Regions from separate parts of the Homo sapiens genome. Here region 2 is linked to region 1. Evidence: promoter capture Hi-C in 16 types of primary human blood cells and fetal thymus (Javierre and others, 2016). All regions are on one chromosome and are shown on one strand. Each heading gives the region's core, a stretch centred on a gene start or on the middle of the fragment in contact. The rest is flanking DNA. Distances are from core to core; before and after follow the strand shown.

What was found. The method cuts DNA at HindIII sites, captures the fragments that hold promoters and counts their contacts. A CHiCAGO score of 5 or more calls a contact.
Region 2: a fragment that was not itself captured here is called in contact with the fragment with the promoter of ZFC3H1 in region 1 in 1 of 17 cell types (non-activated CD4 T cells); the score reaches 5.7 in non-activated CD4 T cells.

The regions. Positions count from the first base shown.
Region 1 is chr12:71,661,359-71,666,130 of GRCh38, reverse strand. It overlaps ZFC3H1 (zinc finger C3H1-type containing), which reads left to right and starts at 2,283. Exons shown (of 35, transcript NM_144982.5): 1 at 2,283-3,118. The coding sequence starts at 2,521. It overlaps THAP2 (THAP domain containing 2), which reads right to left and starts at 1,830. Exons shown (of 3, transcript NM_031435.4): 1 at 1,551-1,830. The coding sequence starts at 1,621. RefSeq lists enhancers at 1,821-2,180, 1,630-2,188, 2,541-2,660. The HindIII fragment of the contact is 1,665 bases long and covers 1,681-3,345 here.
Region 2 is chr12:75,396,470-75,400,914 of GRCh38, reverse strand. All of the region lies in intron 1 of GLIPR1L2 (GLIPR1 like 2), which reads right to left. Among named protein-coding and RNA genes, the nearest start is that of GLIPR1L2, 7.6 kb to the right of the region's middle. The HindIII fragment of the contact is 8,872 bases long and covers 1-4,445 here.

The DNA of each region.
Region 1 (4,772 bases), core at 1,034-3,533:
CTCCTCTCCATTTCTACTCTAATATCACCCTAGTCTAGAAATTTGGGTGGACTTTCCTTGTTTTATTTACTACAGCTTCCTAACTAGTTTTTCTCTGTCAGCTCACACATTCCCTAATTCAATGCTGATTGTGCCAGCAACTGAGTAAAGGGTTTAGTTTAGTTGACATTGTAGCAAGATTTCCCTGTGAAGGAAAAAAATAGGTAAATTAATATTCTGTAATAAGTTCCTTTCTCATCAAGTTCATTCCCGATGATGCTTGACCAGCACTTTCAGTAACACTACGATTCTCTACACTGCAGCCAGAGGACTTTTCAATATGCAAATCTAATCGTGCCATTCTTTTTTAAACCCTCCATGGTTTCTCAAGTACTCTTAGGATAAAACAGAAAATACTTAAGTAGCACACAGGACCCAATCTGTCATCCTTTGGTCTCATTTGAAATGTCACATCCTTTGAAAAAGTGTTCTTTGACTTTCCAAGACTAAGTTAGGTCTCTGAATGTTTCTTCTGTGGCACTTAATTATTTATGTCTTTCTCCACCATTAAATTCTAAATTCCAGGAGGGTTAGAACTTTCTGGATCCTTAGCACAATGTCAGGTAATTAGGAACTCCGTACATATTTGATGGATGAATGAACAAAGCACTACATATGCATGAACTAGTTTAAAAACAGAAACATCACAAGATTTTTTTTAAGTGGCAGCTTTTAATAAAAGTACAGTTCGTAATAGGTAGGGAAAAAGGTCAAGGATATAATTTCTACATACTAACATATACGTTGTTAGGTATATAAAATATATAAAATCAGGACTGGTGTCACTTAACTTTTTAATGTGTCTTTTCTTCGGGCACGTGGCAGGCACTTGCAGAGAAGGTAAACATTTACAGAGTACCTGTTATTTTCCAGGCATTGTTCAAAGTGCTTTCAAGAGTTCTGGTTTGACAGAACTAAAGAATTTTGATTTTTCTTCCAGCAAACAAAAGAAAACCTAGGTTCTTTTTATTACTCTATTCTAGTAAGAACAGAAAGGTTATCTTTTGCACTTTAATTAACATCGCTTAATTCCATGGCTATCAAAGATGACTCAATTCCTCCGCAGAATTACTATGTGACTATTAGAAATCTAAATGCCTCCCATGTCAATTCATCTAGTGAGAATTTCCTAATTTTAACGGGAACACAGCAGGCTTTTACGGTGATTGCTGATTGGGAAGATCTCTTTCTCCCTTACGGCGTCATTCATGTCAAGGCCCGGTCTAACAGAGGAATAAAACAGTAGAAAATTACGATATCCTCCTGTTACTTTTTTTTACTAAGGGGTAATGACCAAACAGTACTTGGATTTCTTTTAGAAAATGAGTAAAGCTTCCCCGAAAGCAGAGAACAATTGGGCAGATTTGAGAAACACAAAGGACATACGATGCTTCCCTGCTACCAGCTGGGAAAGTTATTAGAATTAGCAGAATCCTCCTGTTCCTTCCACACAAGCGATAGCCACAATAGGAACTCCAGTTTCCGTCACCCCCACTCCCTGCCCAGGTTACCTGTGGAAGCTGATGTTAATGTGCTTGTTGTAGGTAGTGGCACAGCCCGCCGCAGCGCAATTGGTCGGCATTTCCCTTTCCCACTCATTCAGCGCCCTTAGGTCTCTACTGAGGCGCTGGCTGCTAAGCTTTCTTCTGGCAGAGGCTGGACAATCGAGGCAGGCGTGCCTTAATCGTGAGAGCTTAGTCGTGAGAGCGGAGTGGGAAGAAGGGGTGTGTATGTGGGGGCGGAGGCGAAGGACGGTCAGCCTTCCCTTTCTCTTTATTAATATGGCCGACTAGAGCCCACAGAACTGGCCCTCCTGGAGCTCTAGTCGCCTTCGCTTGACTTCACCAACATGGCGGACACAACCCGTTCTTTCTCCCCGCCCCCAAGAGGGAGCGGATCTACTGCGTTTCTTTGGCAGCGGTCCTCAGAGCAATTAAAAGGAAGAGGTGTTTTCCCCTCCGATTACTATAAATTACAAGAGTTTTACAATAAAACTCTCTCAAGGCTGCAACAGCAGCTCCACCTACTTCTGCATGCACCCAACTGTACCAAGCCAGACCCTGCGGTGGGTGTGACCCTAGGACCGGAAGAGTAAACCCGAAGAAAGACGAAAGACTACAAATCCTAGTGAGTATCGAGTTGGTCTTATTATCGCGTGAACTGGGAGCCTTTGTTTCCTGCGTGTCGCAGGAAGTGACGTTTCGGGTACAGCCGCTACCAGAGTCCCTTTCTCGCGAGGCGGAAGAACCCCGATCGCTGAGGAGCAAGGGGGCGCTAGGAAAGGGAACTGGGTTGCGACGGTCCGGCGAGAGAGAGCTGGGGTGCTGGGGTGCGGGGAAGTTGGGGAGCAGAGGCCGCTTGGTGTCCGAGTAGGGTAAGACCGCACCGACCCAGTCCGTTAGGAAAGAAGGGAAACGAGGCAATTGTCGGGCGGATCCCCGGACGGAGGGCTAAGGTTGTGTGGAAGGCGCTGCTCCCCGGATGGCGACCGCAGATACTCCGGCCCCGGCCTCCAGTGGCCTCTCGCCGAAGGAAGAAGGGGAGCTTGAAGATGGGGAAATCAGTGACGACGATAATAACAGCCAGATACGGAGTCGGAGCAGCAGCAGCAGCAGCGGCGGCGGGCTGTTACCCTATCCGCGGCGAAGGCCTCCTCACTCGGCCCGGGGCGGTGGATCTGGCGGAGGCGGTGGCTCTTCCTCGTCATCGTCCTCTTCTCAGCAGCAGCTGAGGAATTTCTCACGCTCGCGGCACGCGTCTGAGCGGGGCCACCTCAGGGGACCCAGCAGCTACCGACCCAAAGAACCGTTCCGGTCTCATCCGCCTTCTGTACGGATGCCTTCGAGCTCACTGTCCGAAAGCAGTCCCCGGCCGTCTTTCTGGGAGCGGAGCCACCTCGCCTTGGACCGTTTCCGCTTTCGAGGCAGGCCTTACCGGGGTGGGAGTCGCTGGAGTCGGGGGCGAGGAGTGGGTGAGCGAGGAGGCAAGCCGGGGTGCAGACCTCCTCTGGGAGGAGGAGCAGGATCCGGGTTCAGCAGCAGTCAGAGCTGGCGAGAGCCCTCTCCACCTCGGAAGAGCTGTATCCTTAACGTGGCGGTCGGCGCTGGGTGTGTCACTAAAGTTCCCTTTAGCGTCATTACTAGGTCTGTGAGACGAGTGTAACTTTGAATCATCAGAACCGCTTATTTCTCCCTGTGTCAGTATACTTTAAGTTGTTCTTTGGTAATTCCCCATGTGTCACACTATAGCGTTATTCTTAAGACTGCTTCATTGGGTATATTAACGTGCTGTGGATTGGGTTAAGCTTATGAAATCTAAGACAGTTAAGTCTGATTTGTAATAATACCTTAGAAGCCCAAGTTTCATTAGCATTTGTATTTTTGCTGGTACAGAAACTTTGTGTTTTATATGAAGTTGACTTGGATTGTTAGAGAAAAAATATTCATAAACAGTTTAAGTAATATTGTTGCTTTATCATATTGCAGTTTGACGTTGAAAATTGTAAAGTTTTAATCTGCACAGTCCTGCACTATTTTTGTGATTCTGTTTTTATCTTGATTTATTCCGGTTGCTGCCTTTTAAAGTGGGGGGGGGAGGGGTAAAAAAAAAACAACTCTGGTGTCTTTACCAAGTCTGTTTCAGAGCTTTTTGATTCATTTGATCTTTTTGGAACACTTTACCTCCTTTACGTTTCTATCTGTGTTCACTTTTGCACATTGTGTAACTTCGTGCTGACTAAATGAGGGCCAGAGAGAGAAAGATAAACTTATCAGCATTTTTATTTTAATACGTTAGAGTGGAGGAATGTGTATGCGAGGGTGGAGATTACGGGTAAGTTGAGAAAGGAAATAGTAACATTCCAGATTTTTCCTACTTCTAACCTTATTCTCAGTTTTAAACATTACTGAGTTTACTCAGCATTTATACAGAGGAATCAATCATCCGAAGGTTTCCTGTTTTATAATGGGTTTGTAAAACACTATCTTGACTTAATCTGTGATCATTGCAAAAATTGTTTAAAGACTTTCATTACTGGTTGTAATTCACATAGTGTGATGATTTTTAATTTCGTTATTATATATGAAACTTAAAAGTAATGACAGTTATTTGGAAGACAATCAGAATTACTTTTATAGAACACTTAGGTCCAGAATAGGTCTTTCTCAAATGTCATGATGTAAAAGGGGCAAGGAATGTACATTTAGGTGAGAAACAGCAGCTTCTGATGCTAGTTCCCTGAAAAACCTTACTTCTGCAACCAAAAGTTGGGTTAGGAGTATTTCAGGATTGTTTCGGAGAAAATCATGTAGGCGCCAGGCGTGGTGGCTCACGCCTGTAATCCCAACACTTTGAGAGGCCGAGGCGGTGGATCACTTGAGATCAGGAGTTCCAGACCAGCTTGGCCAACATGGTGAAACCTTGTCTCTACTAAAAATAAAAAAGTTAGCCAGGCGTGGTGTTGGGTGCTTGTATTTCCAGCTACCCGGGAGGCTGAGGCAGGAGAACCGATTGAACTCGGGAGGCAGAGTTGTAGTGAGCAGAGATTGCACCACTGCACTCCATCCTGGGCGGTAAAGCGAGACTCCGTTTCAAAAAAAAAAAAAAAAGGAAAATTATATAGATATTTAACTTTTTAAAAGCCAGCAAATGGTTCTTCCAAGAAGGTTAGAAAACCTCTGCCCACGGTGTTTCTTAATCCATGGATTTGTGGTCTATTTTGAATCCAAAAGCCA
Region 2 (4,445 bases), core at 879-3,378, 3.7 Mb before region 1:
TTATGCTCACTTCCATTTTGATGTTTTGTTTGCCCATTTCATGCCATCGTACACAAAGATCAGACTTCAGGAATGCTAGCCCTAATACACTAAATACTGTATTTTACTGAGGATATTGTTTTAAATTGTTGCCGTTACATTTTTTTGCTGTATATATTTTTTGTTTCATGAATGCTTTATCACTTATAATCTCCAGTGAAATTATCAACACGCATTAAAGAATATTTTGTTTTAAAAATAATTTTTTTGAACAGATATCTAATACTTTATAAAAACAAAATCACATAAAATCATTGAGAAGTCATGTTGTCTTGCTCTCCACCATCCTATTTCCCCAGGACTTCTATAAGTAACTAATTAATTCCGTGGATCTGTCCACTATTTTCTATTCAAATATACATTATTTTAAATTTTCGTATACAAAACGTATCATAATGTACCTTGCTTTTCCAAGATCCATGAGATATTGTGTTGTTAGTATAAAGAACGTTCAGGCCGGGCACGGTGGCTCACGCCTGTAATCCCAGCACTTTGGGAGGCCAAGGCGGGAGGATCACGAGGTCAGGAGATTGAGACCATCCTATAACGTGGTGAAAACCTATATCTACTAAAAAAAATACAAAAAAAAATTAGCCGGGCGTGGTGGCAGGTGCCTGTAGTCCCAGCTACTCGGGAGGCTGAGGCAGGAGAATGGCATGAACCCAGGAGGCAGAGGTTGCAGTGAGCCGAGATGGCGCCACTGCACTCCGGTCTGGGCAACAGAGCGAGACTCTGTCTCAAAAAATAAAAATAAAAAAATAAAAAACGTTCTCATTCTTTTTTTTCCCCACAGGTGTATGGTATTCTTTTATGTGGGTGAACCACACTTACTTTAGTTAACCCTCAGTGCTGGAGATTAGAGTATCTTTCCAATAATTTGTTAATATTAAATGATGGTACAGTGAATAACCGTTTAGGGATACCATTTCCTTCTTGTATAGTATGTCCTTAGGATAGATACCAGAAATGGGACCAGAGAGCCAAAGAGTAAATACATCTGTAATGTAGTAGGTATTGCCAGATTCTTCTCTACAAGGACTATATCATTTTGCTTTCACACCAGTAGTACATGGAGTAGGCATGGTCTTTGACTTTGACACAAAATCCAGAAGCAATTTTAAAAAACTGATTAGTCAGCTACACAAAAATGTTAAAAAGTCTGAATAGCAAAAAATACATATGTAGATTTAAAAAACTGACAAACTGGGAACATAATTACAACTCATACCAAAGACGAAGGGCTCATTTCCCAAATAAATAATGGGAGAAAAAAAGGCAAAAAAACTAATAGAAAAATAATCATTAAAGGATACTAACAGATCCTTATTCACATGAAAGGATACACAGCTTTGCTTATAATAAGAGAAATAAAAATCACAGATCATATTTTACCTATCAGGCTAGTAAAACTCCAAAGTTCAACAATAGTTTTGTTGTCTTGTCTGTGGGGAATTGTTGACTAGTTGGAATTTATATTGATGTATGGATGAAGCAATATTACCTTTTTCAAATGACTACCCAGATTGATCAACACCAATTTATTAAAAAGTCTATCTATAGCTCACAGATTTGAGATGCTACTTTTATCATATGCTAAACACTCATATATTTGGGTTATTTCTGAACTCTATATCTTTCAATGGTATATCTTTTAACATACTAATACTGTATTATTTTACTTAGTGAGGCTTTATTATATGCTATAAAATCTAATATGTTCAATAACCCTCATTTTTCAAAATATCCTGGCTATGCTTATTTATTTTTAAAACAACCTGAATGTCCATCAATAAAGGAATAGGTAAAAAAGGTAGTACATTTAAGGGATAAATAGCATAGCAAATAAAACTGAATTAACTAGATTTATATCAACAAATAAATCTCAAATGTATAGTTTTGAATGAAAAACCAAGTAACATGATAAATTCCACATAATGCCACTTATAGAAATATAAGACGGAAACCTCCAAACATTGTGTTTTTGGTCTAGATAATCACATATATATTCAAAACCTTAAAAAATGTATTAGAATGATTCATATCAAACTCATAAAGGTTATTTTCTCTGGGGATGGAGAAAGGGAACATAACTGAAGTGGCTGTTAGAAAATGTTAACATTGACTGCACTGTTCTTTCTTTTTTTAAAAAAGGAGGAAGATTTATTTGTAATATTAAATTAAAAATTGATATTACATATAAAACTACAGCCCATTATCTGGTACATGAGAGGAGTCTAAGTCTTGAGCCTTCTCCTAGTACTACCATGTCAGGTTAGAATTAGGAATCACTCAGCCCCAGAACAGCTCAGAAAAAGAAGGGAGGGATTCTGTGCTCCTAGCATCCAAGAATGTAAGAAAGTTGAAGCAACAAAGAGGACGAAGCTAAGACACAATCTTCTAATATTACAAACCCATAAAAATGGGAATAAAATGTTTAGTTTAAATCCTATGAAATTGCTTGCGTTTTCTAGGTCAAAAATGGTTGAAGAGCAATTCATATAATTCAATCTTTATATGATAAAAGTTTTTTTTTTTTTTTTTTTTTTTGAGATGGAGTCTCATTCTATCGCCCAGGCTGGAGTACAGTGGTGCGATCTCAGCTCACTGCAACCTCTGCTTCCCGGGTTCAAGCGATTCTCCTGCCTCAGCCTTCGGAGTAGCTAGGATTACAGGCGCCTGCCACAACGCTCGGCAATTTTTGTATTGTTAGTAGGGACAGGGTTTCACCATGTTGGCCAGGCTGGTCAGAACTCCTAACCTCAAGTGATCTGCCCGCCTTGGCCTCCCGAAGTGTTGGGATTACAGGCGTGAGCCACCGCTCCCGGCATTTTTTTTTTTTTTTTTTTAAATCCACAGCTGAGCTCAAAGGAAGGAAAGGTAATACTCAGGTGCCAGAAATGAAGAGAAAAGTTAAAAGTCCGAGTGGTGAACTCATGTGCCTAATCGGAGGAGAGGAAATATCAGATTAGATATAAATGCCAACAATATAGGAAGAAGATGTAGCCATAGAACCATCTAAGACAAGTTCTGGGACTGAAATATTTGCGGAAAAATCAGGATGCCGACTTCTTCCTAAATGAAGCAGACCACCAAACCCTTCCTAGAAGTCTGAGGAAGTGACAGAAAGTCAGATGGAAAAAAGTCATGTCATGTGAGAAATCAGTTCTAGATCTATCCTATGCCTACAAGTGGACACTATACTTACATTGCCTATATATGCTGAGAATACCCAAACAAATTTTAAATATCAAAACTTAACACATTATAAATATAAAAAATATAAATGTAAAACTGACTGTAACAGGGGAGTAAGGCAAAAGCTAATAAAAATTAGTCTGTAGCAATATTTATTTTTCCACTATTTGGACAATATGGGACTCTTTCACACACACACAATCTCTGCTGAAAATAAGCATAGGATAGAAAATTATAAACATGACAGAGGCTCAGTAGCTAAAACAAGAGAACTGGCACCCAAAGAAACTAAAATAATAAAGCACTAAAAATATTTTATGAAAATATAAAATAATTATGTTTAAAATGATTAAATGAGTGTAAAAATAGAAATCATAAGAGAAAACAGGACACTGGGGGAATATGAGCAAATTAAAAAAAAAGTCTAGAAATTTTAAAAAATCAATTGGCCAGTTAAATATATCATAAAAATCTGAAGAGAAAACTAGTGAATGAACAGCAGTTCTAAAGCAATGACTCTGAAGGAAAACAGAAAAAGAGATGGACTGTAGGGAGAAAATGGAGAGCTGTGGAGAAAAGGAATGAAAAAGTCAAACATACATCTAATAGGAGTTCAAGACAGGGAGACTAGAGAGCATGGGGAAGAGGCAACATTCTATGAAATAATACTGAAGAATTTTAGTCTTAACAATGGACATGGATACAGAGATTAAAAAGAAAAGTCCTGAACAAAATAAATAAAAATAAATGCATGCTTAGTACTAGTATGGGGTAAAACTACAGAACAGCAAATATAAAATATTTAAAGTAGCTGGAGAGAAAATATAAATCATCTTTAAAATAACAACCAAAAGACTAGTGGATCTCAAACTTTAGCACACTTCAGAATCATCTGGAGGACTTTAATTAAAATACAGAGTACTGGGTTTCAAAACCAGGATTTCTGATTCAGTAAGTCTGGGATAGGTCCTGAGAACTTTAATTTCTAACAAGTTCACAGGTGATTCTGTTGTTGCTGGTATAGGAACCATACTGTGGGAACCTCTGAGTTCAGCTAACAAAAGAAACCTCAAAAGCAACAGTGGGAGACAGAAGATAGTGCTGAGAGAGAACAATATCATTCAAGAGTGTGAAGTAAAGATTATTTTACATATAGAAATATTAAGTTTACTATTCACACTCCCTTGCTGAATGAGCTATTAAAAGACGTA